2 separate regions of the Homo sapiens genome follow, and region 2 is linked to region 1. Evidence: promoter capture Hi-C in 16 types of primary human blood cells and fetal thymus (Javierre and others, 2016). All regions are on one chromosome and are shown on one strand. The core of a region is centred on a gene start or on the middle of the fragment in contact, and the rest is flanking DNA. Distances in the headings are between cores, read along the strand shown.

Evidence for each region. Contacts are between HindIII fragments. The CHiCAGO score rates a contact against its expected background, and 5 or more counts as called.
Region 2: a fragment that was not itself captured here is called in contact with the fragment with the promoter of PGBD2 in region 1 in 5 of 17 cell types (naive CD8 T cells, neutrophils, non-activated CD4 T cells and 2 more); the score reaches 8.8 in naive CD8 T cells.

The regions. Positions count from the first base shown.
Region 1 is chr1:248,902,124-248,908,445 of GRCh38, forward strand. It overlaps PGBD2 (piggyBac transposable element derived 2), which reads left to right and starts at 4,112. Exons shown (of 3, transcript NM_170725.3): 1 at 4,112-4,219. RefSeq lists enhancers at 3,742-4,663, 4,188-4,377 and silencers at 3,998-4,057, 4,468-4,557. The HindIII fragment of the contact is 4,441 bases long and covers 2,077-6,322 here.
Region 2 is chr1:248,809,906-248,815,749 of GRCh38, forward strand. SH3BP5L (SH3 binding domain protein 5 like) reads right to left here. Exons shown (of 7, transcript NM_030645.3): 5 at 4,544-4,705; 6 at 3,084-3,257; 7 at 541-2,465. The coding sequence ends at 1,995. Among named protein-coding and RNA genes, the nearest start is that of SH3BP5L, 13 kb to the right of the region's middle. RefSeq lists a silencer at 2,455-2,504. The HindIII fragment of the contact is 6,170 bases long and covers 966-5,844 here.

The DNA.
Region 1 (6,322 bases), core at 2,862-5,361:
CCAGGCATGGTGGCACACACCTGTAGTCCTAGCTACTTGGGAGGCTGAGGCAGGAGAATTGCTTGAACCCAGGAGGCGAAGGTTGCAGTGAGCTGAGATCGTACCACTGCACTCCAGCCTGGACAACAGAGCAAGACTCCATCTCAAAAAAAAAAAAAAACCTATAATGAGATACCATCTCATGCCAGTCAGAATGTCAGTTATTAAAAAGTCAAGAAACAATAGTTACTGGCAAGGTTGCAGAGAAATCAGAATGCTTTTACACTGTTGGTTCAAATGTAAATCAGTTCAACCATTGTGAAAGACAGTGTGGTGATTCCTCAAAGATCTAAAATCAGAAATACCATTTGACTCAGCAATCCTATTACTGGGCATATACCCACAGGAATATAAATCATTCTATGATAAAGATACCATGCATGCATATGTTCATTGCAGCACTACTCACAACAGCTAAGACATGTAATCAACCCAAATGCCCATCAGTGATAGACTGGATAAAGAAAATGTGGTACATATACAACATGGAATACTATGTAGCAATAAAAAGGATTGAGATCATATCTTTTTGCAGGGAGATGGATGGAGCTGGGAACCATTATCCTCAGCAAACTAATGTAGGAACAGAAAACCCAACACCACATGTTCTCACTTATAAGTGGGAGATGAACTATGAGAACACACAGATGGGGCAGTGGGGGTGGGGTGGCGGGGAACAACACAGTGGGGCCTGTCAGGGACCTATGGGGAGGGAGAGCATCAGGAAAAGTAGCTAATGCTTGTTAAGCTTAATACCTAGGTGATGGGTTGATCTGTGCAGCAAAATCAGCATGGCACATTTACCTATATAACAAACCTGCACACCCTGCACACGTACCCCTGAACTTAAAATAAAAGCTGAAGAAAAAACAAGTTTTTTTGTAGAGATGGGATCTTCCTATATTGCCCAGGCTGGTCTCAAACTTCTGTGCTCAAATGATCCTCCTGCTTTGGCCTTCCAAATTTCTGGGATTTCAGACATGAACCATTGCTCCTGACTCCCTATCAACTAATTCTTAACTTTAAATTTATTTTTATTTTTTGTTTTCTTTTAGAGACAGGGTCTCATTCTGTCACCTAGGTTGGAGTGCAGTGGCATGATCATAGCTCATTGAGGTCTCAAACTCCTGGGCTCAAGCAGTCCTCCTGTCTTAGCTTCCTGAGTATCTGGGGCTACAGGTGTGTACCATCACACCTGGCTAACTTTAATGTAGCATAGTCTTACTATGTTGCCCAGGCTGGTCTTGAACTCTTGGCCTCAGGCGATTCTCCCACCTCAGGCTTCCAAAGTGCTGGGATTACAGGTGTGAGCCACCACTGCCCAGCCTGATTCTTAACTTTATGCAGGACATCAAATCCTTAATCATACATAGTGCGTCAAATCAATTCAATTGTCATCGGAATGCATGCCACCTCCATATCATTTATTAACAAGCAAGCTTCAAGAAACCAGCAATCTCTTCTTATCCTGGACCCATTAATCATGGGCGCTTGGGAGTTCTAGCCTGAAATTATTTGGCATCTGGTTCTTTCTTCAGGTCCAGCTCACCTGATATCTCTAGTAATTTCCTTAACTAAAATATCCTGATGGACTAATGAGTATTTTCTCATAATTCCATACAACTGTGGTTTCATGTATGTGACATTCTTAATTGTTGGGTAGGCTGTGATACTGCTATGGCTGTCAAAAACTTTAATGTAGTCAGCAACTTGTAGCTGAGCTTTAATTGCTGCTATGTACTAACATCATCAACCATAAGGTGTTATTTAGTCAATGCGACATGAGAATTTTTATATGTAAAGTCTCACCCCATACATACACACAAAGACATGTACAGGTGAAATAAACTAAATGAAATAAATTAATAAATATATAAGTTTAATTCCCTAAGTCCATTTTCTTCTTTTTATGTTTTTTTTTTATTTGTTAACTCCCTAAAGCAAGATAGTATCTATAAACAAACTAGGCTGCAAGGCTTTTATGAAATTTACTCATAATACACATAATTTAAATATTTTCCCCAATTTTTTCCTTAAAGCTTATTTAGCCTATTTCTCAATTAAAGAACTTCAAAATATGTATTTTCCTCAAAGGATTCTAGCTTAACGGGCTAAATTTTTTTTTTTTTCCCAATTCCTATCATGCAGTTCTTCTGCCATTCTACCCCAAATTTGACATTGTTTTCAAAGATTTGACTTTGTTTTTAAACGTAGCTTTATTCAAAGCAATGCACTGAAAATGTCTAGATGGACTCTTTGCAGCTCCATAAACACTTACACTTGGTCCCGATCTTTTTATTAACTTTAAATTACATATGCAAGTATCCAAATTGCAGTGAGAATTCTCTCTGGATCATAAAGGTATGGAAGAAACAGCCAGCAAGCACCTTATTACTCCTTGTTGAACTCACCCCCTCTTTGACCTCATTTCTTTGACTTTCTTTTGTCTCCAGCCATTCTCAAATGTGCTAGGCTTGCTTCGCCTCAGAGCATTTGCACATGCCATTCTCTCTGCTTCAAATATTTTCCCCCTTGAATTCTGCATGGGGAATTTGCTCTTCATATTCTTTGGCTTTTCCCTCAAATACAACCTTCTCACTTACCAACCTTCCCTGACCAAATTATTTAAAACTGAATTCACAACAGTCTTATTGGTCCCCTTTGCTTCCTTTATTTTCTTCCTAGCACTTTCCACTTTGACATGCCATATATTTTGTTTACTGTCTGGTTCTCCCACTGAAATGACAAGAGGGTTTTTCTCTTGTGCCTTTTCTTTTTCACTGTTCTAACATCACTGCTCAGAGGAGTGATTGTCACAGAGAAGACACTCATTTAACACTTGAATGAATGAATGAGACACAGGATCTGGGGAACAAAGCAAGTTAGAAACACCACCCTACCTTACCTAGAGTAGCACTCCCATTTTCCCATGGCTTATTGCCTGTTTTCTCAATTTGCTCATATGTGGAATGAATGACAAACTAATACGTGCCCTTCACTTCAGAATCTCACAAATGAGCATGATTTTTTTCTTCTGATCCAGGGGTTTTGGAACACACTTTACAGTGACCAAAAAACCTTTGTGAAGTGTCAGTGTGGAGAAGCAAATACAAACTCTTCACTAAGTGGCCCTCTTTTTGAATGTTAACACGGTTTGGTCCCAGGGATTTCTGTGTTCAAAGCCTTTCAGGGCAAGGCAGTTTTCTGCGGAGTACACTGTCCTATATACCTAATGGGCTACTGGGTTTCAGCTGGACAAAGTCCTTATAGAGCCGTGATTCTCAAGAAGTAGGGGGAGATACTTTTATTTGTCATAACTAGAGTGGAGAGAGTGTGGTGTGCTACTGGCATTTAGTTGCTAGGGATGCTCAATATCCTACAATTAAGGTTCTATTTTTACCAAGTAAAAATATAGGTAGGCAAGGTAGCCAGATGAAATACAGGGACTTCCAGTTAAATGTGAATCTTAGATGAACAACACTGTTACCTGAAACTCAAATTTAACTGTATTTTATCCGTGACCCTGCCTCCTATAATGCACAGGACAGCCTCCTTCCCTCTCAACAAAGAATTATCCAGGCCCAAAATGTCAAGAGTGGAGGTTGAGAAACCCTGCCATACAGCAGTGGTTCTCAAGCCCTAGTTTGTACCACAATTACCTTCAGGGTTGGTAAGGCCGATTATTGGGCACACCCTCAGAGTTTCTTACTCAGAAGGCCTGTAGTGGGGTCCCAAGATTTGCATTTCCATCGATTTCCCAGGTGAAGCTGCTGTTAGATTGGGGGCACATTTGAGAACCACTACCCTAGAAAGTCCCCATGCTCTCCTGATTAGGAAGGAGCGAGGAAGGTTTCCAAAGTAGGACAGGGGTGGGAGGGTAAGGGAGAGTGGCGGGAAGAGCTGGCCCGCTGGGGTGGGTTATTTCGGCCGTTCTGGCCTCGCAGGCGTTTTCGGGATCCCTCTAGGCGCCGCGGAGGTCCTGGAGTCTCGATGGTCGCTCGGGCCGGGGCGTGGCCTGGCCCGGGGGCGTGGCATGGAAGGCCGGCCGAGGTGCAGCGAGCCCTCTGGTGCCGGACGTTGCGCGGCCGCGACGCCCGACGCCAACGCAGGCGCAGCGCTCCGATTCGGCGCGGCTCATGGTCCGGTTCGGGCTCGCGAGTCTCCGTCTGGGGTAGGGCAGGTAGGCCTCAGTGTGCTCGCGCTGCAGGCAGGGCTTCGCTTGAGTACAGGAGTGGTTGGCGTTGATGTTGCGTTTTCTCAACGGCGGCATCCGAGGAGTTCGTCCTCACCACTGCGCGCCGACGGTGGGCTGGCGGGACCAGGACAGGAACAATGGGATTCCGAGGGCCGCAAGGGGGCGCTCCTTCTGCGGGTTGGGGTGCGAGGCCGGAGGCCGGGCCGGCTGAGCGGGAGGCGGAGCGGGGTGGGTGGGGACCAGGGCGGGGTCGGGCTAAAGAGGGATGGATTCAGGGCGGGGTGGGAGGGACCAGGGCAGGCTCGGGCGGGGTGGGCGGGACGAAGGAGGCGGGCGGCCTGAGGCTGGCGGCGGGACTGCGAATGCCACGTCACATCCTGGGGCGGGGTGGCTCTGTGCCGGGGCGCGCTGGGGGCGGGTCGTTTTTAACTGCGTCTGCCTGGGAAGCTGCTGAGGTTTCTGAGGGTCTTTGTTTGCCCTTCTTTCTCTTTTGCTAGTGAGGTGAAGAGAAGGGAGGGTTCTTCCGTATCCCACAAAAGCCATTCTGAGCTGTTGGGTGAAGGGGTGGCCTGCCCTTCCACACCTGTGGGATATCTTGTCAGGTGGGAGGAGAGACTGAGAAAAGAAATAAGACACAGAGACAAAGTATAGAGAAACCACAGTGGGCCCAGGGGACCGGCACTCAGCATACCAAGGACTTGCACCAGCACCGGTCTCTGAGTTCCCTCAGTTTTTATTGATTATTGTTTTCATTATCTCAGCAAGAGGAATGCGGTAGGAGAGCAGGGTGATAAGGAGGTCAGCAAAGAAACATGTGAGCAAAAGAATTTATGTCATAAGTTCAAGTGGAGGTACTATGCCTGGATGTGCACGTAGGCCACATTTATGTTTCTCTCTGCCCAAACATTTCAGTGGAATAAAGAATAACAGGGCAGCATTGCTGCCAACATGTCTTGCCTCCTGCCATAGGGCAGTTTTTCTCCTATCTCAGAATTGAACAAATGTACAATCAGGTTTTGTACGGAGACATTCAGTTCCCAGGGGCAGGCAGGACACAGTGGCCTTCATCTATCTCAACTGCAAGAGGCTTTCCTCTTTTACTAATCCACCTCAGCACAGACGGGTGTCGGGCTGGGGGACGGTAAGGTCTTTCTCTTCCCACGAGGCTGTATTTCAGACTATCACATGGGGAGAAACCTTGGACAATACCCGGCTTTCCAGGGCAGAGGTCCCTGTGGCTTTTCATGGTGCATTGCGCCCCTTGTTTATTGAGACTAGAGAATGGTGATGACTTTTACCAAGCATACTGCTTGTAAACATTTTGTTAACAAGACATGTCCTGCACAGCCCTAGACCCCTTAAACCTTGATTCCATACAACACATGTTTTTGTGAGGTCAAGGTTGGAGCAAAGAGGTTGGGGCAAAGTTACAGATTAAGAGCATCTCAGGGCAAAGCAATTGTTCAAGGTACAGGTCAAAATGGAATTTCTTATGTCTTCCCTTTCTACATAGACACAGTAGCAGTCTGACTTCTCTTTCTTTTCCCTACAGTTAGGCACCTGGCTCAGCTTTGGGGCATTTACATCTATAAAATGTCTTTTGAATAATTTTTATCTTGAATTAATTTCAGAGTTTCAGAGTGTTGTGAAACAAGCAAAAATTCCCATGTACGGTTCGTCTGGATTTCCTAGGGGTTAACATCTTATTTTACAAAACAGTCAACAAAACCAGGATATTAACACCTACAGGCCTTATTCGAATTTCTTTACTCTCACCTATTTCCATTTTGTAATTTAGGTTCCAAGACAGCATTTAGTTGTCCTGTCTTTCCTTGGAGAAATTTACATTTTAAACAGCAGCTCTCCCACCTCCCAATCCCCTAGGACCCTTTAGAGTGGCCTGGGGAGCTCCAGGTCTCACACCAAGTTGCTTTTTCTTTGTTGAGTGCCTGGGCCAGTTCAGTTGAGAATGCCCAGTTGGACCTCTGGGCAGCTCGTGACCACCCTCTGCTCTTCCTCCCAGTGCTGCTAGGCTTAGTGAATGGCACCTCTGTGCACCAGCCATAGGGTGCCTGAAATCTAGGAGGC
Region 2 (5,844 bases), core at 2,801-5,300, 92 kb before region 1:
AGTCACCTTTTATCTAGGTTTTAATTTCAGAGAAACAACGGATAATTCATAATGTAAGTACATCCTAAACACTGCAGCAGACAAAAATACTGCCTATCTGAAATTTCAGTGGGTTCACTGTATTGATAAATCTGGCATCACTACTTGTGTCCCTTCTCTACATTCATGCTCACATCCAGACACATCTAAGATCCCAACCCTCTGGCACTCTCATCTCTTAGCTCAGACAGAGCCCACTCCACCCCGCAGGCCCCTTTCTACCAAACCCTCTCCTGGCACCCATCACCTCACACAGCATGGCCCCATGAGGCACCAACTCCTCCCCTGCTTCTCTACACTTGCCCTGTACATGACCACCCTGGCCATGGGGCCTTCCACCCCCGCAAGAGCATGCATAGCGCAGCTCACTCAATCTGGTCCTTCACCTCCCTTCCCTGACCACACCATCTAAAAAGCCTGCCGCCTAACCCTGCTCTTCCCTTGCCCAACCCTTGCCTCATCTTTGCCCCTTTTCTCTTCCTCCAGCAAGGACAGTAGATGTTAACTGTTACATAAACTACTTTATTTAAATAAAACCAGGAAAGACCCTTTCCCCCTTACACACCAGCACATGCACACACGCACACCCACACCCTCCCTCCCTTTCGGCTGTCTGCCCATGGCCACCTCAAACCCCGAGGTTCTCATTGTGACCAACCTCCCTCAACCTGTAGACCCCCGTGCAGAGTCCAGTTGCCCACGCATCCCGGTTGCTGGCAGAACATGGGCCTAGAAAAGAGCACTCCATCTTCCTGGGGTGGGTCAAAAGGAAGGACTGGTTCTCCCAAGGCACCCAGATCTGGTGTGGCTTCCCTACAAACTGGGAGCACTGCCAGGCAGCTGGAGCTGCTCCCTGCGGAGGGCAGAACTTTTCACCCCAAGCCAACCCCTCCCTGTAACAAAGGAAGTAAGAGGGTTGGCAGCCAAGCTTCAGTGTGCCCCGAGGGATCCTGCAGTAGGTATTTTCAGTTTGGGGAAGAGCAAGGGAGAGCAATTGAGCACCAAATTCCCTAACCCCGTCCTGCAGGAGGGTGCTGAGTCAGTTCAGCATCCTCTACCCAGAAAAAGTAAACACAACTGTGCAGCAAGAGTGAGGGTGGGAATGACAGGGGCCTAAGCCTTCAGGACCTCATGACTTCACCCCCAACATGGGCCCTCTTAGGGACCCACTAGCACCTTGGCAATGTTGAGGACCCAGCCCAGCGGAAACACCATACCCACAGGAGCCAGTCTGGAGTTGGTGATGCTCCCTATGTTGACAGTGGGGTTGGGTTTCTCTCCCTGACACCAGCTTCCTGCAGGCCCTGTAAGTTCTGCTTTGGGGCACACATCGCAGAGTGCCTCAGGTCATGAAAGGGAATGCTGAAGGGAAAGGTGGTGTCTTCCGGAGGCACACAGTACATCTTACAGGTTACACACGGGCAGGCTGGAGCAGGACGGGGGGCAGGGCTCAGCAGCATACCTAGGGTACCCTCCAGAGTTGCCTTGGGAAGGGGGGCGGGGCTGGAAACCAACGGGAGGGGTGACTGTCCATCCCCTCCGACGGGAGTACTCAGGCCCAGCACCCATTTTCTCTGATGAGCTTCCCAGTGCCTTCTAGACCAAGTTCCCTGAGGGAAAAAGCCAAACAGATGGAAAGAGAGGGAGCAGAAAGGGAAAGCAAAGGGTCAATGCCCTGCAGATCGTGATGAGCTGGCAGGCAGAGGCAGACAGAGCGCCGAGGGCGAGCCTTCTGAATGGGTAAGGCAAAGAGAGCCGCCTGCTGAGGGGAAGGGGGAGGCTGTGAGAACGCCAGGGCAGGCACAGAGGACTCGAACACAGCTGGCCTCTCCCAGGGAAGCACTGGAGAAGGGGACCTTCGGGAAGACGAGGCCCCAGAGGAGAGGGCGTGAGAAGACTGTGGGCCCCAACCGGCCCGTGGTGGCAGATTCAAGCCAGGAACCCTGGCCCCTCGGCTACAGGCTGACGCTGCGCTGGTGCCGACCCCCACGGGCTCCGCCGTCGCTGCCCCGGCGCCCTCCACTCCGCGTTCCCAGCTCTTGGCCGTCCAGACTGACGTGGTCCGAGAGGCCTCGCAAGTGCTCCACGGAGTCGCACTTCTGCAGGTCTGAAGCCACCGTGCGCAGGCTCAGCAGACTCAGGGTATCGGTGTCGGGGGCGGGGCCGGGCCCCAGGCTGCTGCCCTCCTCCAGCCCCGCACCCTCGGCCCCCTCAATCCCGCTGTCTCCGTCCTCCATGTCCTCGGGTCCTGCCTCGGCCCCCACGGGGGAGGAGCGCCGAGGGCCCAGGGGGTGGGGAGGCAGACCCCCGCGGCGCCGTGCGTGAATCTGCTCGCTGATCTGCTCCAGGTTACGAAGGGCCACGGAGTAGCGCGTCTTGGCCTGAGCTACCTGCTGCTCCAGTTCTGTCACCTTGGCCTTGTGCTCCTGCAGAGGGCAGAGCAGAGCAAGGCGACCCATGGGGCACGTCTCCACCTTCCTCAGCACTCTGCACTGAGGTCTGAGGGCCTGCTCTCCCAGAATACCTGGACAGCTGGCTCAGCATCCACCACAGACCCACAACAGCCTTCCCTGCTCCACTCTCAGCACCCACCACAGACCCACAACACCCTTCCCTGCTCCACTTGCTCTGCGTTGTTCCTCCCCAGCAATCCTGCTCCTGACCTGAGCCCCACCTTCCAGAGCCTTCCTCTCAGGCCTTCCTCTCCACCAGCTCCTGCTTCCTCATCCTCTCCCCACTGTTCCCTTTCACCCAATGGCTGGTTCTTCTTCCCCATCCCAGATTTCCACCAGTTCTTTTCCTCTTGTTTACCTCCCTTCTTCCAACTACGTTCTCGCCGTCACCAGCCCCCATCACCAGCCCCCATCCCTGCCTCTCACTCCTGCAAGGTCATTTGGAACATGTGTGCCACCACCCTTCCCCACCGCTAGCCGGAGGCCTCACCCTGGCCACCTCACCAAGATGGCCCAGAGAGGCCGACCAGCATCCCCTCCAGCCTGCACCCCCACCTACCCATTCCTCCTCCCCCTCACCCACTCAGCTACCTCCAGGATCTGGCTGAACTGGGCCTTGAGCTCAAAGTAGGGGCGGCTCTTGCCGATGGCCCTCCGGAGGGTCTTCTGCAGGGCTTGGACCCGAGCCTCAGCCTGTTGGCACAGCCGAGTCACTCGCTGGTGCTCCCGCTCACCTCGAAGCCGCTCTTCCTCCGCCTCATTCACCTGGCCCAGAGGACACATCACTGAGCCAGGACCCATGCTTCAGTCTCTGGCATCTGCCCCAGGCTGCCAATCTGAACAACGCCCTGGGGGGAACCCAAACAGGAACATCCTCTGCAAACCCCCAACTGTGTACAGAGCCCGAGACACGCAGGGGAACACGGGGTCTATGAGCCTCAAGACAGCTTATTTCTGTCTCTCTTGGATCTGCTGCCTGACCGTCGAGGACCACATCACAGGCACATGCCTCTGAGCCACGTCTTCCCCATGTTCTTGCCTAGTGTCACCTGCACCACTGGCTACTCAGCTTTGCTGCTGCCAGGAAAGGGATGCTGGTGCCCACTCAACCACTTGAGAGCATCAGGGGAATGTCTGTCAGCACATCACACATCTGCAGCAGCCATTCTCTTCAGGGAGCCCTCAGCGCCAATGGTTAGGGATCTGGGAGTGAGAAGAGCCTGTGTGGGGAGCCACAGCTGTGCGCTGGGTTCTCCAGGTTTCCACACCCTATGTGGGCACCGTCCAGGACAAGTGGGCCGAGGTTGGATGGGGCTCTGGCGTGCTTCTGCTCAGGGTGTTGTACAGTTGGCCCACTTGTCCTGGTAGACAAAGCGGCTGGAGCCCTCACCTGCTCCCTGTTCAGGTGTAGCTCTACACTATACACCATCCCCTAACCCCTCCCCCCGTGCTGTGTGCTCTCATTTGCATGAGCTCTAGAGTAGAAGTGAGGTGCCTGTTCTGTGTGAGGGGCAGATGAAGAATCACAAGCCACAAACACCCCCTCGAGTTGCTGACACCTGCCCTGTGCAAGCTGAAGGTGGCAGACAGGGCCAACGGCAGAGATCCTTCCGCTCCCCAGTCCCCTTTCAGGAGCTTGGAAATGATACATAAATTATACTTCAAAACTCGAGGTGTACTGTCAGAGCTCAAAAGCAGGAAAGGGAGCAGACTCTGAAAACAGAAGCGAGGAGTCACACAGCTAAACATAATAAAATGTGAATGTTGAATCCTCAGTATCCACCAGGGATGAATTGTTTGGGTTAGTCCCACACCTGGAGGCAAACGTTCAAGAAGAGCCCGGGATGACATTCTAAGTCAGAGGGAAATGGAATATGGGAAGCAATGGAGGCCAAACAGAACAGAAAACTAGGAACAGGTTTTGCCTGAAACAGAATCAAAGTTGAAAGAAGGCTAGAATAGAGGGAAGAATGAGGAGGTGAGGTGATAAAGACATAGCAAAGGATGGACGAGAACCAGCGAAGGGGACCTGCTGGCACCGCCCGGCTCACCTTGCAGGTAGCATGGTTCAGCATCTCCTGCCACGTGGGGTCCAGTCGGTTCTTGTCAGCCATGACGCCCTGCTCAGCCACAAACACCATTTCTCGAGCAGCGTTGTGCATGCTTACGGCCCGCTCGTACCGCAGCGCTGCCTTCTGTGTCTCCTGCTGAGCCTGGGGGGAGAGGGATATCAGGATGGGGAACCCTGAGGGACCCCAGCTGCCCATGGAGACCCATAATAGACGTGAGGATAAGAGAAGGAGGAAGGCCTACTAGCAATGTCGGCTTCATTTCCCAAACTGTGCTGAGGATAAATGCCAAGGAAGCAACATTCTATAAAGAATATTTCATAAGGATATGGACTAGAAGAAATAAAAATTTTGCCAGTGGAGGGTAGATGTGTGAAATCCAGCACTCCCAAAGGCTGCTAGCCTTTTCCCCTAGGGAAAACAAAGGAAAACACAAACCATTTTAGTGTAAGGTGGTTAGCAACATAGACAGAGTCTTACAGAAAAGATGACCTTGAGACCATCAATTCCATGTTCAGCAGGCAAGCTGAAGGAAGTAATCAGACAAGTGCTCAGGGACAGTCATCATAGCCATACCAACCAAGCAAAAAACAAAACAAACCTAACTTTTCAGTTATAGGACATCGGTTAAATAAATAATAGTACATCTAATATAAGAAAATAAGCTGGGCGCAGTGGCTTCTGCCTGTGAGCCCATCTACTTGTGAGGCTGAGGGAGGAGGATTACTTGAGCCTAGGAGTTTGAGGTTACAGTGAGCTATGATCACACCATTGCACTCCAGTCTGGGCAACAGAGCAAGACCCCATTTCTTAAAAAAATAAAATATTAATCAGTCCTTTAAAATGACGGCTTGGATGTATAGTTATTGACATGGAACCATGTCATAATGCTAATAAAAGAACAAAATAGCACATACTGTGTAATCCCATTTTGGCTGGATATACAAGGACACGAAATATGATTAATACAGCACACATGGTTATCTGTGCTGTATTAATCATATTTTTATTTTCTATACTTTATGATGCTTTCATGTCTTGGGGGACCTTGCTGGCCAAGGACAAACTGCCCCTTCCAGGGCTAATTCCTAGAAACAGTAAACTCCCCTGTAAGTGTGCCTTTCATATGCAAACCAACCACCTAATCCAAAGCCTGGATCCCCAGCTAACTCCTTTACCTACTTCTCCCCGACCAAGCCGATATTTCCTCTGCCCTAAGTCATCCCAGGGCCAGGTACTAGACAATTAGAGGCCGCCCCTATAGCCCAGGGCCTAGCAAAGTT